Regions from separate parts of the Homo sapiens genome. Here all the other regions are linked to region 2. The links are contacts of gene promoters, found by promoter capture Hi-C in blood cells and fetal thymus (Javierre and others, 2016). All regions are on one chromosome and are shown on one strand. Each heading gives the region's core, a stretch centred on a gene start or on the middle of the fragment in contact. The rest is flanking DNA. Distances are from core to core; before and after follow the strand shown. Region 1 has its middle 7.3 kb from the start of ZG16. Region 2 holds the start of CORO1A (coronin 1A). Region 3 overlaps QPRT (quinolinate phosphoribosyltransferase). Region 4 holds the start of KIF22 (kinesin family member 22). Region 5 holds the start of PRRT2 (proline rich transmembrane protein 2).

Evidence for each region. Contacts are between HindIII fragments. The CHiCAGO score rates a contact against its expected background, and 5 or more counts as called.
Region 1: a fragment that was not itself captured here is called in contact with the fragment with the promoter of CORO1A in region 2 in 1 of 17 cell types (monocytes); the score reaches 6.0 in monocytes.
Region 3: a fragment that was not itself captured here is called in contact with the fragment with the promoter of CORO1A in region 2 in 1 of 17 cell types (neutrophils); the score reaches 5.9 in neutrophils.
Region 4: the fragment with the promoter of KIF22 here is called in contact with the fragment with the promoter of CORO1A in region 2 in 1 of 17 cell types (neutrophils); the score reaches 5.0 in neutrophils.
Region 5: a contact is called between the fragment with the promoter of PRRT2 here and the fragment with the promoter of CORO1A in region 2, in 1 of 17 cell types (neutrophils). The highest score is 5.3, in neutrophils.

Annotation. Positions count from the first base shown.
Region 1 is chr16:29,768,065-29,773,900 of GRCh38, reverse strand. No RefSeq gene overlaps it. Among named protein-coding and RNA genes, the nearest start is that of ZG16, 7.3 kb to the left of the region's middle. The HindIII fragment of the contact is 4,460 bases long and covers 9-4,468 here.
Region 2 is chr16:30,180,216-30,186,091 of GRCh38, reverse strand. It overlaps CORO1A (coronin 1A), which reads right to left and starts at 2,490. Exons shown (of 11, transcript NM_007074.4): 1 at 2,367-2,490; 2 at 685-883. The coding sequence starts at 882. It overlaps CORO1A-AS1 (CORO1A antisense RNA 1), which reads left to right and starts at 1,304. Exons shown (of 2, transcript NR_186359.1): 1 at 1,304-1,588; 2 at 2,321-2,699. RefSeq lists enhancers at 8-157, 45-586, 1,127-1,668, 1,669-2,209, 3,628-3,737 and 1 more and silencers at 588-687, 2,058-2,167, 2,198-2,657, 2,798-2,907. The HindIII fragment of the contact is 25,461 bases long and covers 1-5,876 here.
Region 3 is chr16:29,695,397-29,701,118 of GRCh38, reverse strand. QPRT (quinolinate phosphoribosyltransferase) reads right to left here. Exons shown (of 4, transcript NM_014298.6): 3 at 3,992-4,123; 4 at 2,420-3,920. The coding sequence ends at 3,708. Among named protein-coding and RNA genes, the nearest start is that of QPRT, 19 kb to the right of the region's middle. RefSeq lists a cis regulatory region at 119-721, a silencer at 1,492-1,666 and an enhancer at 5,592-5,722. The HindIII fragment of the contact is 2,648 bases long and covers 1,619-4,266 here.
Region 4 is chr16:29,787,462-29,793,265 of GRCh38, reverse strand. It overlaps KIF22 (kinesin family member 22), which reads right to left and starts at 2,515. Exons shown (of 14, transcript NM_007317.3): 1 at 2,437-2,515. The coding sequence starts at 2,506. LOC105371167 (a long non-coding RNA gene) reads right to left here and starts at 5,753. Exons shown (of 2, transcript XR_950983.1): 1 at 5,720-5,753; 2 at 5,143-5,344. RefSeq lists an enhancer at 2,705-3,104. The HindIII fragment of the contact is 11,757 bases long and covers 1-5,804 here.
Region 5 is chr16:29,807,664-29,813,527 of GRCh38, reverse strand. PRRT2 (proline rich transmembrane protein 2) reads right to left here and starts at 1,335. Exons shown (of 4, transcript NM_145239.3): 1 at 1,205-1,335; 2 at 1-538. The coding sequence starts at 473. It overlaps MAZ (MYC associated zinc finger protein), which reads right to left. Exons shown (of 5, transcript NM_002383.4): 2 at 5,700-5,864; 3 at 5,235-5,298; 4 at 4,787-4,958; 5 at 2,364-3,451. The coding sequence ends at 3,297. It overlaps MVP-DT (MVP divergent transcript), which reads left to right. Exons shown (of 4, transcript NR_186424.1): 3 at 3,355-3,493; 4 at 4,395-4,884. RefSeq lists silencers at 1,333-1,482, 1,883-1,962, 5,529-5,864 and an enhancer at 5,209-5,448. The HindIII fragment of the contact is 10,276 bases long and covers 1-5,006 here.

The sequences.
Region 1 (5,836 bases), core at 989-3,488, 410 kb after region 2:
GGAAAGCTTCCTTTCTGCTCTCTAGCCCTATAAAGGCTCCCCAAAAAGGAACTGACAATTGGCAAATTAATAGGAGAAAAATGTGTACAAAATTTATGTCACATGTACAAGCATAAGGAAACCACAGGAGAACGATGACCTAATAACCCAACGTGGTCCAGATGCTTATGTAGCTGCCTTCTTCACAGGGGAGGGGAAATGGGGGTGCAGCAATGTTGAGAGGTAGTATGTGATTTTGTGGGGAAATGAATGGGGCCAGGTGCAGTGGCTCACACACCTGTAATCCCAGCACTTTGGGAGCCCGAGGCGGATGGATCACTTGAGGTCAGGAGTTTGAGATCAGCCTGACCAACATGGTGAAACCCCGTCTCTACTAAAAAATACAAAAATCAGCCAGGTGTTGTGGCACATGCATGTAATCCCAGCTACTTGGGAGGCTGAGGCAGGAGAATCGCTTGAACCAGGGAAGTGGAGGTTGCAGTGAGCCGAGATTGCACCATTGCACTCCAGCCTGGGCAACAAAAGCAGAACTCCGTTTCAAAAAAATAGCCGGGCGCAGTGGCTCACGCCTGTAATCCCAGCACTTTGGGAGGCCGAGGCGGGCGGATCATGAGGTCAGGAGATCAAGGCCATCCTGGCTAATGGTGAAACCCCATCTCTACTAAAAACACACACAAAAAAATTAGCTGGGCACGGTAGCGGGTGCCTGTAATCCCAGCTACTCGGGAGGCTGAGGCAGAAGAATCGCTTGAACCCGGGAGGCAGAGGCTGCAGTGAGCAGAGATCACACCATTGCAGTCCAGCCTGGGCCACAGAGCGAGACTCCGTCTCAAAAAAAAAAAAAAAATTAGCTGGGCATAGTGGTGCACACCTGCAGTCTCAGTGCTTGGAGGACTGAGGTCAGAGGATTGCTTGAGCCTAGGATTTTGAGGCTGCAGAGAGTTATGATCATGCCATTGCACTCCAGCCTGGGTGACAGAGCGAGACTCCGTCTCAAAATAAATAAATAAATAAACAAAAAAAAAATATTTTAAAAGGAGAAATGAATGGACCCGAAAGATAGGAATTAACTTGTAAATGATTCTCTTTGGAATTTGAATAAGCCCAAGAGACTGACTATCTTGTGAAAAAGTCTGTCTATGTTTGGTCACATGCTTCAGTCTTATTTTCTGCCATAATGAGGTTATCTGCCATAGATAACAAGCTGAAAGTGTGATGAATTTGGAAATAATGAAGAGAGGAGGGTGGCTGGAGGGAAATGAGGGAAGCCGACCTGTGAGGCCTGGGCAGCAGCCAGTGGGCAGAGTGTGCAGAGCCTGAGAGGTGTGGTCAGGAGTTTGGCTTTTTTTTTTTTTTGGAGATGGAGTCTCACTCTGTCACCAGGCTGGAGTGCAGTGATGCAATCTCAGCTCACTGCAACCTCTGACTCCCTGGTTCAAGCGATTCTCCTGCCACAGCCTCCCAAGTAGGTGAGATTACAGGCATGCGCCACCACGCACAGCTAATTTTTGTATTTTTAGTAGAGACGGGGTTTCGCCATGTTGGCAGGATGGTCTCGAACTCCTGACCTCGTGATCCGCCTGCCTCGGCCTCCCAAAGTGCTGGGATTACAGGTGTGTGAGCCACCGCGCCCGGCCTGGAGGAGTTTGGCTTCTTTTCTCACAGTGAGGGGAGACATGGAAGGGTTTTGAACAGAGGGGTACATGCTCATATTTGCATTTTAGAAGGATTGCTCTCTCCTGATTTTGATAAAGTGGAGGAGGGACTTGGGCAGGGTAAGAGTGGAGACAGGCATGGCAGATGTGGTGTGACCTTCTCCCCTCCCATCTAGAATTCCCCTGAAAGCTCCTCCCTCTCTCAGGTGAAGCAGCTTTGCCCTCTTTTCAAAGTTTTGATGCAATTTCAGACCTGTGGTGGGGATCTGCCTCTCCACCCCCATCCAGAAGGTTTCCGACACCTGTGGCTCATGCCTGTAATCCTAGCAATTTGGGAGGCCAAGGCAGGACGATAGCTTGAGGCCAGGAGTTTGAGACCAGCCTGGTCATCATAGCAAGACCCCCCCCACCCATCCCCACAAAAACTAAAAAACTAATTTAAAAAAATTATTTGAGGGCTGAGCACTGTGGCTCATACCTATAATCCCAGCACTTTGGGAGGGCAAGGCAGGCAGATCTTTGAGGTCAGAAGTTCGAGACCAGCGTGACCAACATGGTGAAACCTTGTCTCTACTAAAAATACAAAAATTATCCGGGCATGGTGGTGGATGCCTGTAATCTGCTGCAGCTGCTTGGGAGGATGAGGCAGAAGAATGGCTTGAACCCGGGAGGCAGAGGCTGCAGTGAGCAGAGATCGCACCATTGCACTCCAGCCTGGGCCACAGAGCGAGACTCCATCTCAAAAAAAAAAAAAAATTAGCTGGGCATAGTGGTACACACCTGCAGTCTCAGTACTTGGAGGACTGAGGTCGGAGGATTGCTTGAGCCCAGGAGTTTGAGGCTGTAGAGAGTTATGATCATGCCATTGCACTCCAGCCTGGGCAACAGAGTAAGACCGTGTCTCAAATAAATAAATAAATAAAATAAAATAATAAAAATGTTTTGGCCAGTTGCGGTGGCTCACGCTTGTAATCCCAGCACTTTGGGAAGCTGAGGCTGGCAGATCACCTGAGGTCAAGAGTTTGAGACCAGCCTGGCAAACATGGTGAAACCCTGTCTCTACTAAAAATACAAAAATTAGCCAGACATGGTGGCAGGCACCTATAATCCCAGCTACTTGGGAGGCTGAGGCAGGAGAATCGCTTGAACCCAGGAGGTGGAGTTTGCAGTGAGCTAAGATCGCGCCATCGTACTCCAGCCTGGGTGACAAGAGTGAAACTCCGTCTCAAAAAAAAAAAAAAAAAGTTTCAAAATATATTTCCAAACAGTGGGAGATCTGTTTCCTGTTAAGAAAAAAACATTATCTGCTTCCTATTTATACACTGGGCCTTGGTGCACGTTTTCATTTGGAAGAAGGGTCTGACGGCATGAGCGCTGCTTTTCTGTTCACTCTTAGTTGTTCCAATGAATAAAGTAATGGGCAGAAGTGACTTCACCAGGTTGCCAAGGGGAGTCCTGCTCTCCGCCCACAGTGACCTGCAATTGCTAATCTTCAACTCTGCCCATGCACACTCCAGCTGCCTAAAATGCTCTCCTCCTTCTGCCCACCTGGCAACCTCCAGGTTATTCAGAGGGGACCACCACCAGCCTGCACCACCACCCACCCTTCTCACAGGAAGGCCTCAGCTCTCTTCTCCTCCCAGCTCCTCCTCTTCAAATAGAATTCATCATTCCTTTCTTTGGCTTCTGTGTGTTTCCTACATTACTCTATTATGGTTCTAATTACCCTGCACTATAATTTATATGTTTACATGTAAGCCTTCTCCACTAAACTGAGAGCTCATTCTCAGGCAGGGGCCATGACTCAGTCATCTCCAAATTCCCAGCATCTGGCATCACACCTGGTACAGAGTAAGCATCCGTGGATGGTTATCCAATGAATACAGCACCTTGGGCCCAGGCTACAACGAGACTTCTATGAACCGTTCCTCCTTTGTCTTTCCTCACCTCTCTGTCTCTCTTCTTGCAGGGTTTGTATTGGGTTTTCTTTGCTTTCTTATTCACTTTTATTTATTTTTTTCTTTTTTGAGACAGGGTCTCACTCTGTACCTCAGGCTGGAGTGCAGTGCCACTATTACAGCTCACTGTAGCCTCAACCTCCTGGGCTCTATTGATCCTTCCACCTCAGCCTCCCAAGAATCTGGGACCACCCCCCAGCAAATTTTTGCATTTTTACTTTTTGTAGAGATGAAGTCTCACTGTGTTGCTCAGGCTGGTCTTGAACTCCTGGGCTCAAGTGATCCTCCCACGTCAGCCTCCCAAGTGCTGGGAATACGGATGTGAGCCACCTTGGTTGGGAAACCTCAGGGCAGCTTGGGTGGCCACAGTAGTATGAGAGAGGCTGCAGGGGCTCAGATTCAGGGTAGGTAAGGGTACATTGTTAATCATTTTTTAAGCCAGAAACCTATAGCCACGTACCAAGCATTTGTGGACAGAATGTTATAAAGAGATGTTAAGTAAAGTTATGGGAGGCTGTTTTTCTGGCCTGAGCTCCTGAACTAGACCCCAAAAGACCAAACCAAAATGGAGTCACCCATGCTAAATGCTACATAATCAAACTCAAACTTCAAAGAAAGCAGAGAGATCCCAAAACAGACCAGGTTTTTCCTCCTGAAAACAAATTCCAGCATAATAAGAAGCTCCCCTCTGCTCCAACCCATCCCAAAAAAGTAACCTGGAATAACGAGGTTTTTCCTTATTGCTCTATTTCCTTATTCCCACCTTACAAAACCCACTGCTATGTTTCCTAGTGGGATTTTAGACCAAAAAAGTCCATTCACGGTGGTGACAGAGTGACATCAATGCCTAAAGCTTTTTATCAATCTCTCAAAATTGAAAGTTGGCCAAAAAGAGATAATTGGTTTTCTTTGTTTTCGTTTGTGTTTTTGAGACTGAGCTTAGCTCTATCGCCCAGGATGGAGTGCAGCGGCACAATCTTGGCTCACTGCAACCTCCACCTCCTGGGTTCAATCCATTCTCGTGCCTCAGCCTCCCAAGTAGCTGGGATTATAGGCGCCTGCCACAATACCCAGCTAAATTTTGTATTTTTAGTACAGATGGGGTTTCACTATGTTGGCCAGGCTGGTCTCGAACTCCTAACCTCAGGTGATCCGCCTGCCTTGGCCCTCCAAAGTGCTGAGATTACAGGCATGAGCCACCGCGCATGGCCAAGAGAATTGTTAAATTAAGTTTAGCCTAAAGCTGCCTCCTTACATATTTTAATTTAGGCCTAAAGGTTTCTCCTCACCTAGTGGCCTAACTGGACATGTAAATAGACTATAACCTTCTCTTATACCAACCACAGAGTTTTGGCCCATCACAAGTGGCCAACTGTTCAAACCATGTTCAAATAAGGCAAGTGCCACACCTTAACCAATCTGGCTATTTCTGTACCTCATCTCCATTTTCTGTATGTCACTTTCCTTTTTCCGTCTATAATTATTATCCAACCATATGGCAGCCCCAGAGTTTCTCTGAACCTATGCTGGTTCAGGGAGCTGCCTGATTTGTGAATTGTTCTTTGCTCAATTAAACTCTCTTAAATTTAATTTGTCTTAAGTTTTAATTTTAACAGATACATGGGTTTAACACCTGGCTCCAGCCCTTACCTACCATGTAACCCACTGAGCTTCAGTTTTTTTTTTGTTTTTTGTTTTTTTTTTGAGATGGAGTCTCACTCTGTTGCCCAGGCTGGAGGGCAGTGGCGTGATCTCGGCTTACTGCAACCCCCGCCTCCCTGGTTCAAGCTATTCTTCTGCCTCAGCCTCCCGAGTAGCTGGGACTACAGGCAAGTGCCACCACATCTGGCTAATTTTTGTATTTTTAGTAGAGACGAGGTTTCACCATATTGGCCAGGCTGGTCTCCAACTCCTAATCTGGTGAACCACCTGCCTCGGCCTCCCAAAGTGCTGGGATTAAGGGCATGAGCCACTGTGCCCGGCCTGGAGCTTCAGTTTTTTCATCTGTAAATTGGAGATAATAAGACCCACCAATTTTTTTCAACCCCCTGGTACAGGCCTGGCACGTGGTAGGTAGTAAGTGAAATTTTTATTCTCCCTTCAGATTTTCACGAAATACTCTGGTCTTTCTTTTCGGCCTCTTTCAGATAAAGATCTGGACAGCCTTTATCTTACTCATCTACCATTAGCTATATTTCATGGGTTAACTTGAGTAGATACTGG
Region 2 (5,876 bases), core at 1,241-3,740:
GGGGACAGCTGCTTCAGCAGGGCTTCCTGTGTGACAGCCATGTGGGGCGCGGGCCCAGCTCTCACCCCGACAACCACTTCCTCTTCTCTTTGCTTCCATCAGCCCTTTTAAGGTAACAACTTGGGGCCCATCTCCCCTTCCTGTCTTACCCCCCAAAGAGCACAGGAGTGTGCTGGGGGTGCGGGGCAGCAGCCAGCCAGCGGAGGGGGCAGCAGGCTCCAGGGGAGGGCAGGGCTGCGGGTGGGGGAGAGCACCTCTTGCATCATCCCTGCCTGCGAGCTGGGGGACAGAGTTGCTAGGTCCTCAGACAGGCCCAGAGCCAGAGTCCCTCCCAACCCTGAGAACGCTGCCAGGGCCCCCAGACCCCATCCCAACCCCCTCTGTGTTTCCATGGGGAGAAAGCCCCAGGCTGAGGCTCAGGAGGGCTGATCATGGGTCTGCAGGACTGTCTGTAGTCCTGGTCACTGGTGTGACCCATCTTGTGTTGGCTCCTTCTGAGCGTCAGTTTCCACACAGCCACAGCACAGAGGAGCTGGAGGAAGTGTAAGGCTCATGGGGCCCAGCTCAGTTTTCCAGATGGCAACACAGGCCCTGGAAGGCCTGGTGACCGTCACCTAATCAGGACCTGCACAGAGCCATGGGTCCGGTGGAGGAGCTGCTCCCCCCAGGGCCCCAGGGGCTCACCTTGCCCAGGGGCAGCACCAGGAAGGCCCCTCCCCCGCTGGCCTCACAGATCAGGGCCACAAACTTAGGGTTGACAGCACAGAAGCCACTGTCCCAGGTGGTCTGTGAGACGCGCACATCTTCATAGCACTGGTCGGCCTTGGCCGGCTGTCCAAACACGTGGCGGAACTTGCTGGAGCGGACCACCTGCCGGCTCATTCTGGGGGCACACAGCATAAGAGCATTTCTCCCTTCAGGTCAACTCTGATCTTCCAGTGGTCCCCACCTCCCCCAGGACACCCCTCAGTCTGGCTTTTAAGGTCCCAGCATCATCTCCAGGGGCTCCCTATTCTTCCCTCTGTGGCTGATGCCTGCTTGCCTTCCCCAGCCTCTCCTTCCCTCTAACCTGCAAGCCCCCTTCTCCCTGGCCCCAGGCCACTCTGAGCCACCCTCTCAATCTGTACCCTCAGCCTCTGCAACAGAGCCTGGCGTGGTGTTGCCCCACTGCATGTTTGTTGACTGACTGGCTGATGGATGCAGAGCCCGTCCTTCCTAATGGTTCAGACTCAGGCGTCATCAGCCCAGATGGCTCCGAGGGTGGGTTCTCTCTTAGTTACCGTGTCCAGAGCCCACCTCCCTCACACCCACACAGCGCTTCCTAAAGGCAGGGACAGGAGCTGGCCTCCCTCGCCTGCTGGCATGGGGCTGGACACAGGAGGAAGTGGCGTGGGGGCTGCCTGAGGGGAGTGAGGCGGCAGGATAGCTTCCCCAGCAGGTCTCTGGCTCAGGTCCAGGTATCTCCTCCTCCCCATACCTCTGCCTCTCGCCTCCGCTCAGAAAAGCAGGTGCCCTTAAGAGCCATCTCCACCCCCATGTAAACTGCACACAGGAAGGGAGAGGCCACTCCGACTGCTCTGAGGTCCAGGTAGGATGGTTTCCCCCAGTGTCTGGGTGGGGAGCAAGGAACTCCAGGGGCGACCTTGTGCCACCGCATCACCTTCCTGCTCAGGGAAGGGGCCTGTGCTGCCGCTTGGAGGGTGCCATGCCCAGAGCCTCTGCCCCTAGCCTCAGCCTCGCCTACTCACTGGGGGCTCCAGCACCCCCGGCCACCCCAGGACTCCCGAAGAGGCTGCTAGGTCGGCCTGCCCAAAGAGCGGTGAGGAGCGTATGTGAAGAGCCCCAGTCTTGAGGAGCAGCCTGTATCTGGAGAGAGGGGAGCCCCGGACCAGAGGTGGGGGACAGGAAGCCATCGCCCCACCCTGCCTCCTCCCCCACCACAGGTACCAGGCCCGGAAACCACGGAAAGGGGAACTTGGTCTTTTCTTGTTTTGCTCTCAACCCCTTCCTGTCTCCAAGCCCAGGGCAGCTGCCCCGCTCACCCCACCCTGCCCTCGTCCCCACCCTCCCCGAGACTCAATTCCGTGGGGAGTCGGGCCCTCGACACTGTGCTGACCCCCGGCCACCCACCTCCATCTTGGCCGCGGTGGTCCCTAGCCCTCGCCTCCGCAGAGCGCTCTGGGGCCCCGGCGGCCCCCACTCCAAGCAGCGTCCCCCCACGGGCTGCTGCGCCCGCTACCTGGCCCCGGCGCTGGCTGGGTCGCGGTGACAGCCGCGCGCCCCCGCAGCCCGCGGCTCCCACGCGCGCGCCGCCCCACAGGTGGCCCTCGCCCCGGCCCACCCGCGCCTCCCAGGCCCAGCCTCACCTGCTGCCGAGAGAGGACAGTGATCCCCCAAAAGCCGGAGGTGGAGGAGGAGGAGGAAGAGGAGGAAGGAGCTGGAGGAGCCGGGGACTCGCCCGCTGAAGATGCTCTTGTCAAGACAATGAATGAGAAGCAGCCGTGCGCCCGCCTCCGGGGTGGCCGCGCCCCTTGGGGCGGAGCTCTTCCAGGCCCGCCCTGCGCTCCCGGGCTCCCGCTGCGGCCGCCTCTCTCCCCGGCCCCTGCCCGTGCACCACGTTGGTCCCCAACCATAGCGCAGGCTGCCATCCCGGCTCCGGGAAGCGAATCTAAACTTCTTTTTAAAATGTCAAAACGCAAGAGCACCCCATTGCTTCTTTCCTCCCTGCGTCCGCCCCCAGCCTCCTCGCCAGCCTTTCCCTGGCAGGCACGAAAGCGCCCCAGGCCCGCCCGCCAGGCCTCGGTGCCCGCCCCGGCCCGGCTGCGCCGCCCCTTCCTCCCGGCCCCGCAGACGCGAGCGCAGGGGGCGCGGGGGGCGCGGGGGGCGCGAGGGGCGCGGGGGGCGCGGGCGAGGAGGAGCCCCGAGCGCGCTCCTGGACCCCCGGGACCTGGCTCTTGCCTGGCTCTGAGATCTAAGCATGGGTGGCCCCGGGAGTCGCTTCTCCTCCCTGGATCTCCTGGCTTCATCGGGAACACCCCTGCCCTCCTGCTGAAATAATCCGGCATCACGGGCACCTACTTCGTGCCAGGGGCTACAGGGTCGAGCAAGGCAGGCAAGCCAGGCAGGTTTCCGCCCCTGAAGAGCCCAGCCTGGGGGAAGGAGGAGGAGCCCACGGCCGCTCCAAGCCCTGGCTTTGGCGAAGGCTCGAGGGCAAGGAGGAATAGTTCCCACCCTTGGATTCAGAGAGGCTTCTGGAGGCAGCAACAGCGGGCAGGAAAGGCCTGCTCTAGAGTCAGACTATGTCATGAGTGCGACCGCAGCCTGTCACCTGCTGAGTGAGGTGTGGCCGCTACTTAGCCTTTCTCAGCCTCGGTTTCTCCCTCTGTAACAGTCATACCTGCCACGTAAGAGGTATGGGGATGATTACCTAAAATAACCCAAGGAAGTCAGTAAGGACCTCATCTAGAAAGTGGCGGGTGCTTAATAAACGTTAGCTCTCAGCCATGCGTAGTGACTCACGCCTGTAATCCCAGCACTTTGGGAGGCCAAGGCTGGCGGATCACCTGAGGTCAGGAGTTCGAGACCAGCCTGGCCAACATGGTAAAACCGCATCTCTACTAAAAATACAAAAATTAGCGTGGTGTAGTGATGCACCCCTGTAATCCCAGCTACTGAGGAGGCTAAGGCATGAGAATAGCTTGAACCCTGGAGGCAGAGGCTGCAGTGAGCCAAGATTGAGCCACTGTTATCACCCAGTCTTCTCTGGGTGAAAGAGCAAGACCGTCTCATTTTAAAAAAAGTTAGCTCTCATCATTCTTGTTTAAAAAGTATCTGGGCTGGGCCTGAAAGGATTAGGAAGAGCCAACAGGCAAGGCTAGAGGGGTGACCTGTAGGCTGAGGGACAGCCCTGTCGTGTGGAGAAGTTCAAGGAACAGCAAGGGACGGGTTCAAGTCCCACCTCTGCCACTGACTGGCTGTGCGATCTTGGCCAAGAGGGCTAATCTCTCTGAACCTCATTTTGTCATTGGTAAATGGGGAATTAATAAGATTTGAACTGCCCACCTCACAAAGTTATGAGGCTCTGGCCGGGCGCAGTGCCTCACGCCTGTAATCCCAGCACTTTGGGAGGCCAAGGCGGGCAGATCACGAGGTCAGGAGATGGAGACCATCCTGGCTAACATGGTGAAACCCCCTCTCTACTAAAAATACAAAAAATTAGCCAGGCATGGTGGCAGGCGCCTGTAGTCCCAGCTACTTGGGAGGCTGAGGCAGGAGAATGGTGTGAACCCAGGAGGCGGAGGTTGCAGTGAGCCGAGATCGTGGCACTACACTCCAGCCTGGGTGACAGAGCGAGACTCCATCTCAAAAAAAAAAAAAAAAAAAAATTACCCGGGCATGGTGGTGCATGCTTGTAATCCCAACTACTCTGGAGGCTGAGGCAGGAGAATTGCTTGAACCTGGGAGGCGGAGGTTGCAGTGAGCTGAGATGGCACTATTGCACTCCAGCCTGGGCAACAAGAGTGAAACTCCGTCTCAAAAAAAAAAAAATTAGCTGGGCATGGTGGTGTGCGCCTGTAGTCCCAGCTACTCGGGAGGCTGAGGCAGAAGAATCGCCTGAACCCAGGAGGCAGAGGTTGCAGTGAGCCAAGACTGTGCCATTGCACTCCAGCCTGGGCAACAGAGTAAGACTCCATCTCAACAACAACAAAAAAGTTACTAGGCTCAAATGAGACAATAAATCTGTAAATCTTTTATAGATTATTCAATTGTAAAAACCTTAGGGCTGTACTGTACTCAAAGGCCTGCGACTGGACGGGACTAGACCGAGATAAGGTGGGTACTCTGATGTGCCGTCTCCCACAGAAGTGACAGGAATAATAACTGGCTTTTATTGAGTGCCTACTATGTGCTGGGCACTGTTCTAGACACTATACTATGTTCATGTAATCCTCATAGCACCCCTGGGTAGCAAATACTATCTCCATTTTACAGATGCAGAAACTGAAGCACACACTGCCTTCAGCTCTGGAGGGCCTCATGTCCACCCACAGGACGAGGGCATTGGTGAAGGACCTGAAAACTAGGCTCCTGAAGGTGGCGAGCCTGACGGCCCTGGAGAGGGCAAGGTGCAGGCAGACAGTGCTGCTTTCAGAGGCCAAGTGGGCTGCAGCAGGGGAAGGGGTGGGCAGCCTTGGGGCTGCCACAAAGGTCAGGGGCAAGGCTGGTGGGTGGAGGTTCTGGGAAGCAGATGTCCATGCAGCATAAGAATTAGTTACAGCAGTGAGTGGGGAAGGCCCTGGCAAGGCTCTCCATGTTTGAGAGGGGGACAACCTTTTCAAAGGGTGTCCTTATAAGGGATGTCAGAGGGCATTTGCCCAGGAGCGGCGAGAATCACTTGAGCCTAGGAGTTTGAGACCAGTGTGGGCAGCATAGCAAGACCCCATCTCTTAAAAAAAAAAAAAATGAAATTAGCCAGCTGTGGTGGCATGTGCCTGTGTTCTCAGCTGCTTAGGAGGCTGAAGTGGGAGGTTCGCTTGAGCCCAGGAGTTCCAGGCTAACAGTGAGCTATGATTGCACCACTGCACTCCAGCCTGGGTGACAGAGGGAGACCCAGTTTCAATTAAAAGAAAAAAAAGGGGGACCTTTGCCTCTCTTGTTCCTGCTGGTTTAGCTCTTACCATTGCCTCTCTCTTTTTTTTTTTTTTTTTTTTTTTGAGACAGGGTCTCCCTCTGGCTGGGGTGCAATGGCACGATCACAGCTCACTGCAGCCTCAACCTCCCACGCTCAAGCGATCCTCCCATCCATCCTCAGAGCCTCCCGAGTACCTGGGACCAGAGGCACATGCCCAACACACCTAGCTAATTTTTTAAATTGT
Region 3 (5,722 bases), core at 1,693-4,192, 490 kb after region 2:
GTGTTTATCCAAAAAAAAAAAAAAAAAAAAAAAAATCTATGGGACAATTTGGCCAGTTTCCGGTGGGCAGGACAGCAGGTGGAAGGGGCGAGGGGCGCGGGTGGGTGGGTGAGGAGGAGGACAGGCATCAGGTGAGCGGATGGATGGGGTTGGTGGGTAACCCAGACAGTATTTGGGAGGGGATGGGTGGCTGGGAGTGAATGTGAGTAGCTGGTGAATCTGGAGTACACGGGGCTTTGAAAAGTCACAGGGGTACCCTGGGCAGTTGGATGGGGGTCTGATGAGGGGATGAGGCTGGAAAAGTGGGTGGAGAAAAAACTGCTGCCAATGCCTCCTCGCGTTGATTCTTGAGCAGATGCTATGCTGCGTATTCATAGCCTCCTTGGCTATTGCCTTCGGAATCCGGAAAGGGAGCTGGAATTAGAGACGAACGGAGGGCCGCGTGGTTGCAGTGCCCTCTGGTGGCCATCAGGGGTGGCCATCAGGACAATTGGTGTCTACATATTTTCCTTAAGTATTTTTTCATTGTCTATTCTTCCCCGCCCCCACCCCAACCCCAACATACAGACTCCCTGAGGACAGAGATTTTTATCTGTTTACTCGTTGTATGTTCATTGTCTAGAATAGTGCCTGGCACACAGTAGATGCTCAGTTAAATATTGAATGAGTGAATGACACAATTCAAACTGCTCCACCACTTTATATATTTATTTATTTATTTATTTTTGTTTGAGACAGGGCCTCTGTCACCCAGGCTGGAGTGCAGTGGTGCAGTCACAGCTCACTGCAGCCTCAACTGCCCAGGCTTAAGCGATCCTCTCACCCCAGTCTCCTGAGTAGCTGGGACTACAGGTGTGCACCACCACAGCTGGATAATTTTTTAAAAATAGAAATTGAGTCTCACTATGTTGCCCAGGCTGGTCTTGAACTCCTGGGCTCAAGTGATCCTCCTGCCTCAGCCTCCCAAAGTGCTGAGATTACAGGTGTGAGCCACCATGACTGGCCTCCACCACTTTATTGATGAGTGACCCTAAGCAGCTCTCTTAACTTTATAAAGCCTCAGTCTCCTCTTCGGTAAGTGGAGAGGCTAACGCCCGCCCCCACGAGCATTAACTGAGGGAAGGGGACCTGCACACCCTGGATGAAGGTGCTCCCTGCTAGCTCCCGTCTCATGCAGTAGCCAGCATTGCTGGCACATCCCGTACTCACAACAGCATATCATTTTCATTAAACAAACTGCTATGATGGGCACATTTGCCATTGTCTGTGGGGCATCCTGGGGAAATGATCCCAGCTTGGTCCTAGGCTGGCCAGGCAAAGAGGAAGTGTAGCCAGATGGACAAGGGACTGGGAGGTGATGCATAAGAGTCCTTGCCTGCCACGCATGCCCCATTTCCCCACCCCCTCAGTCACACCCAACTCTTCCAACTGCCTTGAGCCATCGAACTCCCTCTGCCTTCTGAAGCTCTGAAGACACTGTATCACTTCTCTCCAAACCCCATGGCCATGACCCACACTCAAGTCCTCTTCCACAGCTCCTCCTGGCCTCCCTGCAGCTGCTCTAGCCCCCTCAAATGCATCCTTCTGCAACGGACTGGATTGAAGCTGCGAATAAGCTTATCTGATTTTCCAGCTTGATTTCCAGCTCACTCATGAGACAGAGTCCAAATCCTCCGATCTACCATTTTGTGGTCTGGACCCAGCCCATCTCCTAGCCACCTCCTGATCACAGCTTCAAATCTTACAGCAAACAATCCAAGCCACCTCTGCCCATGCATCTCCCCTGCCTGGAAATCCATTTCCCTGCAAGGAGGGCGTGTGTTGCCCTAGAGTGCCCAGGATCCATTTCCTGTTCCCCCAGTAATGGAGTGCCCGCCCCAGCTCTCAGAGCTGGAGGATACTGGAGGGCTAACCCATTTCTGGGTTTAGGGGGAGCTTAAGACTCAGGCAGGCAGGTTCCTTTCGCTTTTTTAATGGAACGCTGTGGCTGCAACGAGCATTTTCCAGTTGGCCACAGCGCACCCCCACTTTGTCTTATTCCAGTTCCACCCATTTATTTTATCCGAATAGGTCCTGGAGGCACCGAGTTTGCAGCTCCTGGTACCCTCTCCTCACTTCTGCTCTGTCAGGCCCCAATGCCTGCCCAGATCCCAGATCCCAGTTCCCAGATCACCCCGGGGCTCAACTTTCCTCCCTTGATGCCCAGTGGAACCCCTGGTCCCATGGGGCTTCAGTTTCCCCAGTTCAGGCATAAGAAGCTGGGGTTCATCTGAGCGTGTCCATGTTCCCCCTGGAGGAAGGACGGGAGCAGGCAGGGTGGAGCTGGGATTAGAGGGGACAGGGCAGCTGCAGGTGGCACCTCTGGGCTGTGTCCTCTTGTAGCAGGACGAGCCACAGACAAAACTCCTCAGGCACCGGATTAAAGAAGGAAGAGGTTTATTTGGCCAGGAGCATTGGCAGACTTGCATCTTAATAGCTGAGATCCCTGAAAAAGAAATTCTTGGCCTTTTTAAAGGCTTACAACTCTAAGGGGTCCACGTGAAAGGGTCATGATATCTCAAGCAAGCGGGGAACGTGACTGGGGGCTACACGCATCAGCTAACAGAGCAGAAAGTTTTGCAATGCTTTTTCATACAATGTCTGGAATTTACAGATAACACAAGTAGTTTAGGTCAGGGGTTGATATTATTATTATTGTTACTTTTTTTTAACTACCAGGGCCGGGTGGTGTCGCCAAGGTCTTCTGGCTATTTATCTTACTTCTGTTTTGTTTTGTTTTCTAACTTTTTGCTTTCTCTCTTTCCTCCTGTCTTGTAAACTAGGCAAGGTGGGGGGAGGAGGGCAGCAGGAGTAGTAGTGGTCTCCTTCTTACTGTGGGACTGGCCCCTTTGGTTTAGGGTATCACCAAAGGCAGTGTCTAGGCCAGCCCAGTGTCTCTGCCCAGCAAACCTCCATCTGCTGTGCACTCACAGCCAGGCCATGCTGGTGTTTGGTACAGGTTGGGTGCATGAAGGATGAAGGTTTTGGCCTGTCTGGGGCTTTTGCCTGCCTTTCTTCCTTTCTTTCCATCCTTCCTTTCCCTCCCTCCCTCCCTCCCTCTCTCTTTCTCTCTTTCTTTCCTTTGTTTCTTCTTTGGAGACAGAGTCTCGCTCTATCACCCAGGCTGGAGTGCAGTGGCACCATCAGCTCACTGCAACCTCCACTTCCTGGGTTCAAGCGATTCTCCTGCCTCAGCCTCCTAAGTAGCTGGGATTACAGGCGCGTGCCACCACACCCAGCTAATTCTTCTATTTTTGGTAGAGATGGGGTTTCACCATGTTGGCCAGGCTGGTCTCAAACTCCTGAACTCAAGTGATCTTCCCGCCTCAGCCTCCCAAAGTGCTGGGATTACAGGTGTGAGCCATCGTGCCCGGCTGTCCCAGGTAACTTCTGACATTTGCTGACCCCTCACTATGTGCTCATTATCACCGCAGAACCCCATGTGGTTGATCCTTTATTAGACCCATTTTACAGATTAGGAAACTGAGATGAGCAGAGGTGAAGTCAGCCCTGACAGGTCACAGGAGCAGCAGGTGGCAGAGCCAGAGTTGGGCTCAAGCTAGTGCCAAATGTGCCCCATTGGCCACTGACCCTAAAGATGTGTGACCCAGAGGGTCCTGAGGAGCCACGTTAACCCATGGCCGGTGTCATCCTCTTCCGGTTTAGGACTAGTGGATTTTGGGCACTGGAGCCACCTCTTTGGCAAACAGCTTGAGGGAGAAATCAAGGGCTGGGGCCGCCTGGGTCAGCATCCCCATGGAGATGACGTCTATGTGCGGCCCGCAGAACTGGGGGAGGTTGTCCAGGGTGATGCCCCCACTGGCTTCCACAGCCACACTCGGGAACTGGGCCTTCAGCACGGTGGCCGTGGGGTGCAGCTCCTGCGGGACACAAGCCAAGGGGAGGTAAGAGCCCACCACAGATCCCTCCCCGGAGGCAGAGCCCACCTTACCTCTGGCTTGAAGTTGTCCAGCAGGACAAGGTCGGCACCAGCCTCAGCTGCCTGCACGGCCTCCTGCAGGCTGCTGCATTCCACTTCCACCTTCAGAGTGAAGTCAGCCGCCTGTCTGGCCGCCCGCACCGCCTGCTGGGCAGCCGGGAGGACAAGGGTGAGGACTGGGCCCAGCACCTGGCACTGGGGCGCAGGGAGCCGGGAGGGCGAGGGTGACGATAGGGCCCAGCACTGCAGCTGGGGCGCGGGGAGCCGGGACTGACATTTGAAAAGCTTCGGGTGGACCATGAACTTGGGGTTAATAAGGAAACCAGACTTTGGGGTTGTTTTTGCTTTGTTTTGTTTTTGAGACAGGGTCTCAACCTGTCGCCCAGGCTGGAGTGCAGTGGTGCAATGATAGCTCACTGCAGCCTCTACCTCCTGGGATCAAGTGATTCTCCCACCTCAGTCTCCCGAGTAGCTGGGACTACAGGTGCGTGCCACCATGCCCAGCTAATTTTTGTATTTTTAATAGAGACGACGTTTCACCATGGTGGCCAGGATGGTCTCTAACTCATGACCTCGTGATCCACCCATCTCAGCCTCCCAAAGTGCTGGGATTACAGGCGTGAGCCACCGCACCTGGCCACTGTTTTGTTTTTGAGTCAGGGTCCCGCTCTGTCGCCCAGGCTGGAGTTCAGTGCAGTCATAGTTCACTGCAGCCTCCACCTCCTGGGATCAAGTGATCCTCCCACCTCAGCCTCCCAAGTGGCTGGGACTACAGGGGCTTGCCCACAAGCATGGCTAATTTTTTAATTTTTTGTAGAGACAGAATCTTGCTATATGGCCCAGGCTGGTCTCAGACTCCTGGACTTAAGTAATCCCCCCAACTGGGCCTCCCAAAGTGCTGGGATTACAGGTATGAGCCACTGAGCCAGGATGTTTTATTGTAGGTTAAAATGACCACTTTTGTGGGTCAAAAAGTGGATGAATATCAGCAATATTTGGCATTTGGACCTGAGCTCAATTTGACTCAGAATATTAAAATTAGAAGGGGTGTTTAAGGGCATTTCACAGATGGGAAATAAGGTGCAGAGGGCTAGAGAGATGGGCTCAAGGCTGTGGTGCCAGTGACACTGGCTTCCCCTGTGTTGTCCTTTGCTCTTGAACATCACGCCACGCAGCAGCAGAACAAAGATAAAGAACCAATTCCAAAACCAGGCATGGTGGCTTATGCCTATAATCCCAGCACTTTGGGTGGCCAAGGTGGGAGGATCACTTGAGTCCAGAAGTTTGAGACCAGCCTGGGCAACATAGTGAGACCCCATCTCAAAAAAAAAAAAAAAAAAAAAAAAGGCAGCTGGGTGCAGTGGCTCACTCCTGTAATCCCAGCACTTTGGGAGGCCGAGGTGGGTGGATCACCTGAGGTCAGGAGTTTGAGACCAGTCTGGCCAACATGGTGAATCCCTGTCTCTACTAAAAAATACAAAAATTAGCCGGGCATGGTGGCTGGCGCCTGTAATCCCAGCTACTCGGGAGGCGGAGGCAGGAGAATTGCTTGAACCCAGGAGGCAGAGGTTCCAGTGAGCCGAGATTGCATCACTTCACTCCAGCCTGGGTGAAAGAGTGAGACTCCATCTCAAAAAAAAAAAAAAAAAAAAAAAGCAAAAATTAGCCAGTGGGGTGGAGCATGCCTGTATATCCAGCTACTGGAGAGACTGAGGCCCCATCTCCAGAAAAAGAAAAGCAGGC
Region 4 (5,804 bases), core at 1,266-3,765, 390 kb after region 2:
TTTCACCATGTTGGCCAAGATGGTCTCGATCTCTTGACCTCGTGATCCACCCACCTTGGTCTCCCAAAATGCTGGGATTACAGGCGTGAGCCCAGCCGACGGCTCCTCTTAAACTCCACCTGTCCTAAACTGAACCCTCCTTCCCCATCTCTCTGCAGCCTCCTCCTTTGATCTCTGATGTAAATGAATGGCACCAACCCCAAAAGTGGGAGTCTTTAACTCCAACGTCTCTTACCTCCCACATCAGTTCATCATTAACATCTGTCAAGTCTATCTCTTTAAATCTCTCTTGAACAAGTCCACTTCTCTCCACTCCCACTGCACTACCTCTGCCCAAGGTCATGGTCTTTACAGCCTTCCTTGCTGGTGGTAGCAAGGTGTCTCCCTGCCCTCTAGTCATTCCCTCTGTTTCCTTCCTTGCAGTGTAAGTTACCAGTCATGATGAATTTCCTTCACTTCCTACAAAACTCCAAGTTCTCTTGCACCTTTGGATTTTTGTCCACGTTAATCTCTCTCCCTAGAATATCTGCATTGCTCCCCACCCCACCCTGGAGTGACTAAGGTAAACACATTTTAACTCCTCTTAAAAAACAAAACCAAAAACCCTTTCCTGGTAGACACTAAGGCTTTATCAGGTGCAACCACAGCTCATGTTAGCCCCTCCATAAGCATTTGTCACACCCCACTATTGCGTGTTTGTCACTTTCTCCACCTGACTGCCAACTGTGAGAACAAGTTTTATCCTGCTCACCTTTCTAACCCCAACACCTGGCGCAGAGTAGGCCCTCAAGAAGTATTTGCTGAAAAAAATTAAGATTTAGTGAATAAACTACTAATCACTGGCTTGTTCATTTCCATCATGAAAATGGCTCACGGCCATTCCTGCCCCAGGGCTCACAGTCCAGGGTAGGAGGGAAGAGGGGAGGGCCACATGTAAACAATTATTTACTGCACAAGAGTCTAGCCCTTTCATGATAAAAGCAACCTTGAGCTTGGACCAGGCTAGCAATTATTAATTTTCCCTTCTTTCACAATTCCTAAATTTCATTCACTCTTCTCCCTTTTATTGATGAGGAAATTGAGCTAAGAGAGCATCTTACATCATAAATAAGAAAACACTTGCTGTTCTTGTCTTCTTAGTCAAGGCCTGGCAAACTCCTATCCAACCTTTGAAACCCATCTCAAGTATCATTCACTCCCTTAATGAAGTCCTCCCAGAATACTCAAGGGCTTACTTCAGATTCCACACCCTCAGTTTATACACATCTCTCATTGTGTTTCGTATTACATCTACGTATGTGACACTCTATTGAAACAGACTGTAAATTCCTCGAGGAAGGGACATTATTCATTCAGGCATTTTCATATCTACCATGCACCGGACACAGTGCATCTTCGAAGGGTAAGGGGAGACTGTGCTCAGCCAGCAGGGATAACATGTACTTGGGCATAATGGTTAAGAGCAGAGGTTCTACACTCAGACTCCTTGAGAGCGAATTCAAGCCCCAATATTTACTAGTTGTGTTAACTCTGAACAAACTAACCTCAGTTTCCTGTGTAAAACAAAGACAGTAATAGTAACAACCTGATAGCATTGTGTGGACAATAAATGGTTCACCACCATAAAATGCCTACAACTGTGCCTGGCACATAGCAAGAGCTCTACATGTGTTAGGCATTCTCCTAAATGTCTGTTTCCCCACGAGGCTAACGAGGGCTCCAGTGAATTACTATGGCGCTCACCATCATCACTAACGAGGATTAAGTCTCCGGGTTAGAGAGGCACATGTAAACAAATACTCACATACAAGATTTTGGGTGTCCTAACAGCCTTTCCAACCCTAAAATAGCATTCACTTCCATGCTAGAGTGAAAGGAAATTTTAGTCTTTTATTTCGTTTTCCTGTAATCGCAGAGCATCTTACGCTGCCAACTCAAACCCAGCAGCAGCCGGGTCTGTTCCTCAGCCCGTCCTCTTGCATCTCTCAGGGATGTCTCTGCACCCAAACACCATGTCCCACACAGAACCCTTCCCAATACACGCCTCCGGCTCCCTTCTTCTCGTCCTCGTGGCTAGAGCGTCCGCCACTCTTCTCTTGCTTATTCAGGTGATCTCCAGGGATGAGGCCATGACCCCCGTTTCACAGACGAAGAAACCGAAGCTCACAAAGAAAAAGTGCGCGGGGTTCAAGCCAAGAGCCTGGACCGGAGACCCGAGTCTACTGACCCAAGGGGAGAGCAGGAAACAGGGAGAAGGCAGGAGCCAGGCGGGGCGACCGGCTCGCGACCCCACACTCTCACCGTCCCCCTCTCCCCGCCCCTGCGCCATGGCCGCCTCTCCGCGACAACCCGCAGAGCCTGGACCACACTCCGACACATAACTCCCACTAAACTCCAGACGTCGGTACCCGCCTTGCCCAGGCCGGGCTCAAGTACCTGAGATCGCCGCCGCTGAAGCTGCCGCCATCTCGCGTCGCCTCTGCTGCGTCGAGCCGCCCGCGGCCATTCCACTCCCTCCTTGGGCCCGCCTCTCCCATTCGAATTCCCCGGTGCCCCGCCCCCTCTCCCAGGTTCCACCAATCAAGACTACGCGCCGCCGGAAGCTGCTGCGTGTGGGTCGCCACTATCCCGCCTTCCAGCGCTCGCCTCCGGGTCCCCAAGAAAAGGTTCCCCTGGTCAGGACGCATGCGCGCGCGTGGGCCGCGCAGCCGTTGATGTCTGGAAGCGCGCTGCGATACAAACCCCTACGCAGGGATGTTGGCGACGGTGGCCGCTGGGGGAGCTGCTCAGCGCCGCCCGGCACTGGGCTCCCTTTCCCTTTACTTTCTGCAGTTTCTTGCCTCCGTGGGTGGTTGGCGCGTCTGCGGAGCCAGGGTCGTTGTGTGGATCGTGGGACTGCAGCCCCAGCCAAAGGGCTATCACGTCTGGTCGGTTCTGTAGATCTGGGCCCCAGGGGCTGGACTCTGGGCAGTCACGTTGCAGTCGCTGCCTGCTGGGCCCAAGGCCACTGTAGGTCCCCTCGCGTCCGTGTCAGCCCAGGAGAGCAGCTTGGATGTTCCTGTCTTTATAACTTGGCACTCAGCACGTCGGCGAAGCGTGGAAAACGCTTAGTCTGTGATTCAGTCCCACTCACCCACGGTTCCGGTTCCCAGTCCTTAAGAGTACAGCAGTCCGTTGAGTAGCTCTCTGTCCTTTCTGAAGGGTTGGCTAGGGACGGTCATTCCACTTTTGAGCACCAGGTAGGTAGGGCCCAGGTTTAGACATTATGTTCCACCCTGTTGAACAACAAAACAAAACACGGGCCGGGCGCGGTGGCTCAGTCCTGTAATCCCAGCACTTTGGGAGGCTGAGGCGGGAGGCTCACCTGAGGTGAGGAGCTCGAGACCAGCCTGGCCAACATGGCGAAACCCCGTCTCTACTAAAAACACAAAAATTAGCCGGGGATGGTGGCACGCCTGTAGTCCTAGCTACTCGGGAGGCTGAGGCAGGAGAATCGCTTGAACCCGGGAGGTGTAGGTTGCAATGAGCCGAGATGGTGCCACCGCACTCCAGCCACGGCGCCAGAGTGAGACTCCGTCTCAAAACAAAAAACACAAATCTTAGATCAGTGTTTCTGAAACGTTTTGCCTTGGGATCCCACTACAGTTTTTAAAAATGAGGCCTCCAAAGATGTTTTGTGTATATGAGGGTTTTTGTTTTTTTGTTTTTGAGACGGGGTTTCACTTCCATCTCCCAGGCTAGAGTGCAGTGGCTCAATCTCGGTTCACTCCAACCTCTGCCTCTTGGGTTCAAGTGATTCTCCTGCCTCAGCCTCCCGAGTAGCTGGGATTACAGGTGTGCACCACCACGCTCAGCTAATTTTTGTATTTTTATGGAGACAGGGTTTCACCATGTTGGCCAGGCTGGTCTCAAACTCCTGACCTCAAGTGATCCACCCGCCTTGGCCTCCCAAAGTGCTGGGATTACAGGTGTGAACCACCAGGCCTGGCCGTATATACTGTGTGTGAAGTGAAACTAAATTAAAGTTGACATTAATGAATTTAAAAATTACAGTAAAAAACCCATAGACATAAAAAGGACATCTAAGTAGTGGTTGCCAGGGGATGGTGAGGGGCTGAGGAGCTGGCACTACAGCAATAGATATAACGAGTTTCTTTTGGGGGTGATGGAAATATTAAATATTTTGGAATGAAGTAGTGATGATGGCTGCGTAACGTAATAAACATACTAAAAACCAGAGAGGTGTGCACTTTTTTTTTTTGAGACATAGTCTCTCTCTGTTGCTCAGGCTGGAGTGCAGTGGCGCAATCTCAGCTCACCGTAACCTCCGCCTCCTGGGTTCAAGCAATTCTCCTGCCTCAGCCTCCCGAGTAGCTGGGATTACAGGCATGCACCACCGTGCATGGCTGATTTTGTGTTTTTAGTAGAGACGGGGTTTCTCCATGTTGGTCAGGCTGGTCTTGAACTCATGACCTCAGGTGATCCATCCGCCTCGGCCTCCCAAAGTGCTGGGATTACAGACGTGAGCTACCAAGCCCTGCCTAGACCTCCATCTCTTTTTTTTTTTGAGACGGAGTCTCGCTCTGTGGCCCAGGCCGGAGTGCAGTGGCGCCATCTCGGCTCACTGCAAGCTCCACCTCCCGGGTTCACGCCACTCTTCTGCCTCAGCCTCCCGAGTAGCTGGGACTACAGGCACCTGCCACCACGCCCGGCTAATTTTTTGTATTTTTAGTAGAGACGGGGTTTCACCGTGTTAGCCAGGATGGTCTTGATATCCTGACCTCGTGATCCACCCGCCTCGGCCTCCCAAAGTGCTGGGATTACAGGCGTGAGCCACTGTGCCTGGCCTACCTCCATCTCTTAAAAAATAAAATTAGCCAGGCATGGTGGCACACACCTATATTCCCAGCTACTTGGGAGGCTGAGGTGGGAGGATTGCTTAAGCCCAGGAGTTTGAGGCTGCAGTGAGCCGTGATGGTGCCACTGCACTCTGGCTTCAGTGACAGAGGGAGACCTTGTCTCAAAGACACACAAAAAAACTAGATTCTCATATCTGCTTCTGCATTCATGCTGTTGTGATGTCACATATAATATAGTATTTTGAATACTCCACTATATACTTGAGAAACAATGCAAGAGAAGTCAATTGGTATCTTAGTTTTATTATGAAAATAGTTTTGAACTTGTAGACCCACTGAAAGTGTCTCAGGGACTCCCAGAAGTCTCTGGACCATACTTTGAGAACATCTGACATTGGCAATTGGCAGTTTGGTCTTCCTTGCCTGTCAGAAAAGGCTGTTCAGTTTTCACATTTGTTGTCAACTCCAGATATTTGGTAAGAAACCTGCCAGAAATAGTGAAAAGAGCATAGATCAAGGAGATAGGGCTTCTATGTTTGAATAAACCATTTAGGTACAGGGCCTTGGTGCCAGGCTGCCCAGACCAGAGATTTAGCCTCTTTGTGCCTCCATTTCCTCAGATATTAAAAGGGAATAATGGTTGAAATACCTCCTAGGGTTGTTTTAAGGATCTGCATCTGGCTGGTAGAAATTAGGGTGGTTTGGCCAGGCGTGGTGGCTCATGCCTGTAATCTCAACACTTTGGGAGGCTGAGGCGGGCAGATCACCTGAAGTCAGGAGTTTGACACTAGCCTGGCCAACATGGGGAAACCCTGTCTCTACTAAAGACACAAAAATTACCCCGGCGTGGTGGCACACACCTGTAATCCCAGCTATTCAGGAGGCTGAGGCAGGAGAATCACTTGAACACAGGAGTTGGAGGTTGCAGTGAGCTGAGATTGCACC
Region 5 (5,864 bases), core at 86-2,585, 370 kb after region 2:
GGTTGAAGGGCTGGCTTGGGGGTAGGCTGGGAATCTGGCCGGGGGTCTGGTTGGGGAGCAGGCTCTGGGGCTGGTTCAGGTGGGGCTGCAGACTCCAGCCTGGACCCCTGGTCTGCAGTGGCCTCTTTGCTCACTTCTGGTTTGGACACTGTTTCTTGGCATGGGTCTTCGGGGCTGCAGTTGGCCTTTGATTCCCCTCCTGGGCTTAAGCTGAGGTCTGTGGCCTGGGCTGTTTCTGAGGCCCCAGCCGGGGTCTCTGTGGTTTCTGGAGCCAGCCCAGCCTTGGGCCCTGAGTCCACAGGGGCCGCAGTGGTGTTTGGACCTGGCTGCGGGGCCTCTGGCTGGTCTGGTACCCCTGCTAGGACCTGGGGAGGGCCAGTTTCAGCTTCAGAATGGCCAGGCCCTTCGCCTGGAACCTTGGGACTCTCCTCAACCCCCTTCATCTCAGAGATCTCAGAGCTGCTGGCTGCCATCTTGAGATGGGAGAGGGGAGAGAGCCCCTATGGGGAGGATGGAATAGCAGAGACAGCGGCAAACCCTGGAAGAGGAGGAGATAGGCTTGGGGTGAGGAGGGAAGAGGGCGCTCAGCACTGCAGGCCCAATTGGGCCACATTCCTGTCTCAGGGCCAGCCTTGCACTGCCTCTAGGGAGAGGAAGAAAAGTTGGGGTTTCCTTTGCCTTAGGGTGGGACATCCCTGCGGGAGGAGTGCTCTACTCAAAGTCTTCTGCTTGGAGAGCCCTGGGGAAGATTAACCCTTTTGTAAACAGGACCTTCTCCAGGGTCTCTCCCTGGGTCCATCCAACAAGATCCAGACTCTCAGATCCCAGCACCCCAAAATCAACGAGCTGTGCAAATAGCACTCCGACAGGCCGACTGGGCAGAGGACCCGACATTCGCATTCCACTCCCTCTGCATCCTCCCCTCCTCCCTGGGCTCCCAGGCGGTGCGGGTTTTCTTGCTGCGCGTTTAGGGCGAGGACGCTCCCGCCCCTTTCTGGGGGACCTGGTTATCTCCTTCGATCCCCTGTCAGCCCCTCTCCCGGGGCTTCCCTCGCCTTCGGTGGGCTGGCGCCTCCTCCCGATGGTTCAGCCCGCCCAGCACCACCACCAGCCCTCCAGACACCCGCATTCCCGTGCAGTCCGCCCGGCGTCAGCCGTCGGTCGGTCCACTCCTACCCGCAGCCTCAGTCTGCCCGGGTCTCACCTCGACGCCGGCCTCCGGACAGCTCCCGCTGCCGCTGCTGGCTTTTGCAGCAGCCGCAGCCCGGGAGGGAGCAAGTCAGCTAGGGAGGGAGGGAGGCGGCGGGTCTCCCTCTTCTCCTCTCCCGTGTGCTCATCCCCTCCTCTCCGGTCCCCTCCCCTACGCTCCGCCGCCGTCGCCGCCCCCGCCCCTCGCGAGCCTCCGGCCCCTCCCGCCAGCCCAAGGGAGCCACGCGTTACCCAGGCAACCGGCCCGGGGACCACTCGCGCCCCCTCCCTGCCCCTTCTCACGCGCGCCTCCAGGAGAGACGCCTCCTTCTTAAGTCCCCGGCCCCTCCCGCCAACGGTCACCGGGATTCCTGGAAGAGACGGGGATTTGGGGGAAACGGAGAGGGTTCTGCGAGGAGACGGGACCAGTGAGACAGGCAGGACCGGGTGGAGGCGTCTCTACGAGCAGGAGGGCAAGGAAGATGGGGCAAGACGCGGGGAGGCTGCAGAGGAGGAGCAGGGTGGGGTTTGGAGAGAATGGAGCCTGCAGAAAGGAGCGGCAGAAACTGGCGCTGGAAGGCTCAAAAAAGGGGCCCTGGAAAGGACGGAGCGGGGACAGGAAAGGGAATTCCAAGGGGCAGGAGGAGCTGGGCAGAGGAGCCCGTGTAAACACAGAGTGGCCCATGCCCAGGATGAGGGACAGGTGCAGCTTTCATTCTCTACCTCGCTGCTCCCAGTCCTAGGGCTCGGACTCCCCAGCCTTTCCGCAGCCGCATCCACCCACCATGGCCTCAGGGCCGTGACGCGCGTGGGGAGGGATGCGGCTGGGGGCTGAGCAGCGGCCATGAGTGTGGACGGGGGAGGGCGGCATTCCCGTCTGGCAGCTCTGTTTGGGTTTCTGACGGGGCCTCTTCAAACCTCCAGGGGCTATTCTGGGCCTGTCCGAGTTGGGAATTCCCCAGAGACCTGGAACTTGCTCTCCACAGCCACAGCCTTGGCCCCGCCCTGTATCTGTGCTGCCGCCAGTAAGGCTGCCCCTGGGGAGGGCGGAGCCAGAACCTCACAGCCTCACAGGGCAGAGCAAGGCTGGATTGACGGACACCAGGCCGAGAAGAAACCCTTGGGGTTGGCGGCAGTTCTTAGTGAGGGCAATTCATTCAATCCAGAGCCAGAAACAGGATTTTATTTAAAATTTATTGTAATGGGGTCCGCGCAAAAGGAAGGGGTGGAGGGTGGGGTACATGCAGGGGACACAGGAACACGATGACATGGCCAGGGCCACAACTTCTTCTGTCGTGGGGAAGAGGGATGAAAAGACAAGACCAGGGCTGGAGCTGGGGTGGAAGAGGGGAGGGGGACACTGGCTGCATTCCCCCGCCCCCAGGAAGCACCTCTAGGCCCTGGACCCCTCGCTCACCCTGGCCCCTAAGACTCCATCTCTTCTCTGCCTCTGGCCCTCCTGGCTCTTCCTCCTGCTCCCCTTGACTTTTTCCCCTGACAGATTCTCAAGTAGGACGATGTTCAGGGCCTGACCCCAACCCCCCATACCACCTTATGAAGGTACAACCTTTGCCGGCCCTGCTTCTGCCCCTCCTCAAACCTCACCGCTTTCCCTCTTTGGGACAGCTCTGATCCCCCTCCTTCCTCTCCTCCCTCCCCCTGGAAAAAAAAAAAAAAGGAAAAGAAAGCACCAACTCCCCGGGGAGGGGCTGCAGACAGCAGGGGGAGAGGACTGGAAGGAGAGAAGAGGACCGTCGAGGGAAGAGGCTCACAAGTCCCTGGGAAGACAGGGCATGGGCTTACAGAGAGGAGAGGGGGTACGGGCAGTGGCTGCTCGTGTCCTCTGCCACCCCTGCCCACTGTCCAGGGGACTTCAACACAACCGAGGGGACAGGTTTGTGTGGGGTCAGGTCTGACAGAAGAGGAGCAGGAGAAACAAATCGTTAAAACCTAGCGAATTCCCCTAAGAAAACATTTCTTCCTCCTTTCCTTCTGGAGGCTCCTTGGTTGGTAGGGAAATAGGAGTTGGTGGGAAAAGAGGGGGGAGAGGAGCTTGTACCAAGGGACTCTACTCCATTCTCCCCTCTCCCCCGCAACCAACTTGGAGCTCACCAGGGTTGGGAGGGAAGTGGCTGAGAGCTCACAGGCACCCCCTCCGCCCCCGAGAGGGAGCCCACAGCTGTGGGAGGGGCTGCTACTGCTGCCGCTGCTGCCGCTGCCGCCGCTGCCGCTGCCGCCGCCATTGGACAAACCTCACCAGTACCTGCACAGGAGAAACACCACGGATCACAGCGCGATCTGAATGGCAAGAGCCTTGCCCTCACCCCACACCTTCCCAGCCTGCTTCCCCTGGGACACAGCCGTTGCTCACTTCCTATCTGGACCCCAGAGGCCTCAGCCTGCATCCTCACCCAGACAGAGCAGTTCTCAAGGATCCTCCCTGTGCCCAGAAGTCTCCCTAGCCTGAGTGGTACATGGGCATCCCTCGCCTTCCTGAGATCCCCTATTGGGCCCTTTGAGCCCCGTTGTCCCCCACACCCCCCATCCCGCCCCCCAGCCATGCCCCACGCCTTGCCTGGTGGGTGCGGGGGTCCCCCTCAGCAGGTGGGCTGTGGCTGGGGGGCGTCTCCCGGGACAGGGGGGGCGGCCCCCCCCAGATGGGTCTGCATGTGGCCGGCCAGCTGGGCAGGGGTCTTGCAGTGCACGCTGCACAGCTTGCACAGGATGCGGTCAGCCCGCGGGGCCTGGAGCCCGTGGTCCTTCACCGCGTGGATGCGCAGGTATGCTGCCGTGGTGAAGCCTATTGGGGGGTGGATTGGGATGGGGCGGGGGTCAGCCAGGCGGAGACCCCAGAGACGGGGCTGATCTCCTAGGCGGGGGATGCCCTCCTCAGATGGCCCTGTCCTCCTCCCACGGTATCCTTGGTAGCCTGGGGCCAACTGCTCTGTTGGGGCTGGTAGACACAGCCCCTCCCTGAGCCTGGGGCCTGGCTTGTGTGGTGCCCGCTTCTCAGCCTTGGTACCTACAGAACTCATTCTCCATGGCCGGGAGACCTCTCCCAGGATGACGAGACACTGACTCCTAGCCACTTGCAGGGTTGACCCTCAGCAGAGACGGCTGTGTCCCCTTCCCTCCAGTGCCCCGCGGTCTCAACCCAGTTAACCGGTGAGTCTGACTGAAGGCAGCTTTCTCTGCTACCCGTGCAGGGTGCGTGCTGGTAAAGCCCGGCCCGTGTACTCCACCTGCCCCAGGAGCTGGAGACAAGACCTTGTGGCTGCGCAGCGGAAACCTTGCCTTGTGACCCCTGGAACTGGCTTTCTTGACTACTCCTTCCCCAGAGCAGCCAAGTTCCACTCCCGCTTTCCCCACACATTACCAGGAGGTTCAACCTCTCTGGCAGATCATCTCTTCCAACCAGGACTTCTTAGAGTCTAATGATGTTCATTCAGGTGTCCCCCCGCTGCTCCCTTGACCTCTTGTAGGAATCTAGACGCCACGAGCTCTTGGCTACAGCACCCTTAACCCGTATCCGTGGCAAGGCGTCTGGCCAGGCGCCCACCCTCTGCCCCTGGCCCTCCCGGCAGCCCTCGGCATGTACCTTTGTTGCAGAGCTCACAGACATGGTGAGGACCCTGGCTGTGCACCTTCATGTGGTCCGAAATATAAGCCGAGCTCAGCATCTTGCCACACACGTGACATGGCACTTTCTCCTCGTGTCGTACTGTGTGCGCCCGCAGCCGATCCTTCGTGGCGAAAGCTGCCTCACATTTCTGAGGAGGGGGGAGGGGCGTGGGGGGTGTCACAGGAGAGTTAAAGCTTGGTGGGCTGGGGAGGGGGGAGCAAGAGATTAAAGGAATCAGAGCCTTGGGGATCTTTGATCTGTAGGAAATGGGAGTGACATGATGAGGCCTTGAAGAAGGGATGAGAAAATGGAGCAAAAAGGCAAAAAGAAGAGAGAGAAAAAGGGGGTCTGAGAGACTGACTCAGACAGCTACCATGAGGATCAAAATCATGAAAACCAAGACAGGAGGAGGCGGGCTTCCTACCTCACATTTGAAGGGCCGTTCTGTTGAGTGCACTTGTCTGACGTGACTGTTGAGGTGATCCGGCCTGGGGACACGTTGGGGTTGGGGTTAGGGCGGAGGTGGTGCGCCCCAAATCCACCAAACCGCACCACAGGCCTTTCCGAGGATCCCTGCGCCTCCTCCCGGAGCCCAGGCCGTCACAGCGACACTTAAGCAGGAAATCCCTCCCCTGGAGCCCAGCAGCCGCTGCCGCCGCCGCCGCCTCCTCCCACGCGAAGCTTCCGTCAACCCCAAGGCCCACCTCCTCGACAAAGGACCACCCCTTGCTCCCTGGTAACCGGGAGAGGCTTCCTCCCTCCGCCCTGGGAGTGGCTCCCCTTCCCCAGCCTCAGCAGCCGCCTCCCTCCCCGCCAGCCACGGCCAGGCCACCTCCGTCGCGTCCCTCCCTCCCCACGGCCTAGCGGGCGGCCGAGGCCCCGTGCACACCGGGAGAAGCTCTTGCCACAGTGGGAGCAGTTGTAGGGCTTGTGCACAGCGCCGTCATGTGAGCGCACGTGGTAGCTCATGCGGTCCTTGCGCTTGAAGCGCTGCTGGCACACCGGGCACTGGTAGGGCTTCTCGTCCGAGTGCGACAGCTTGTGTCGGTTCAGG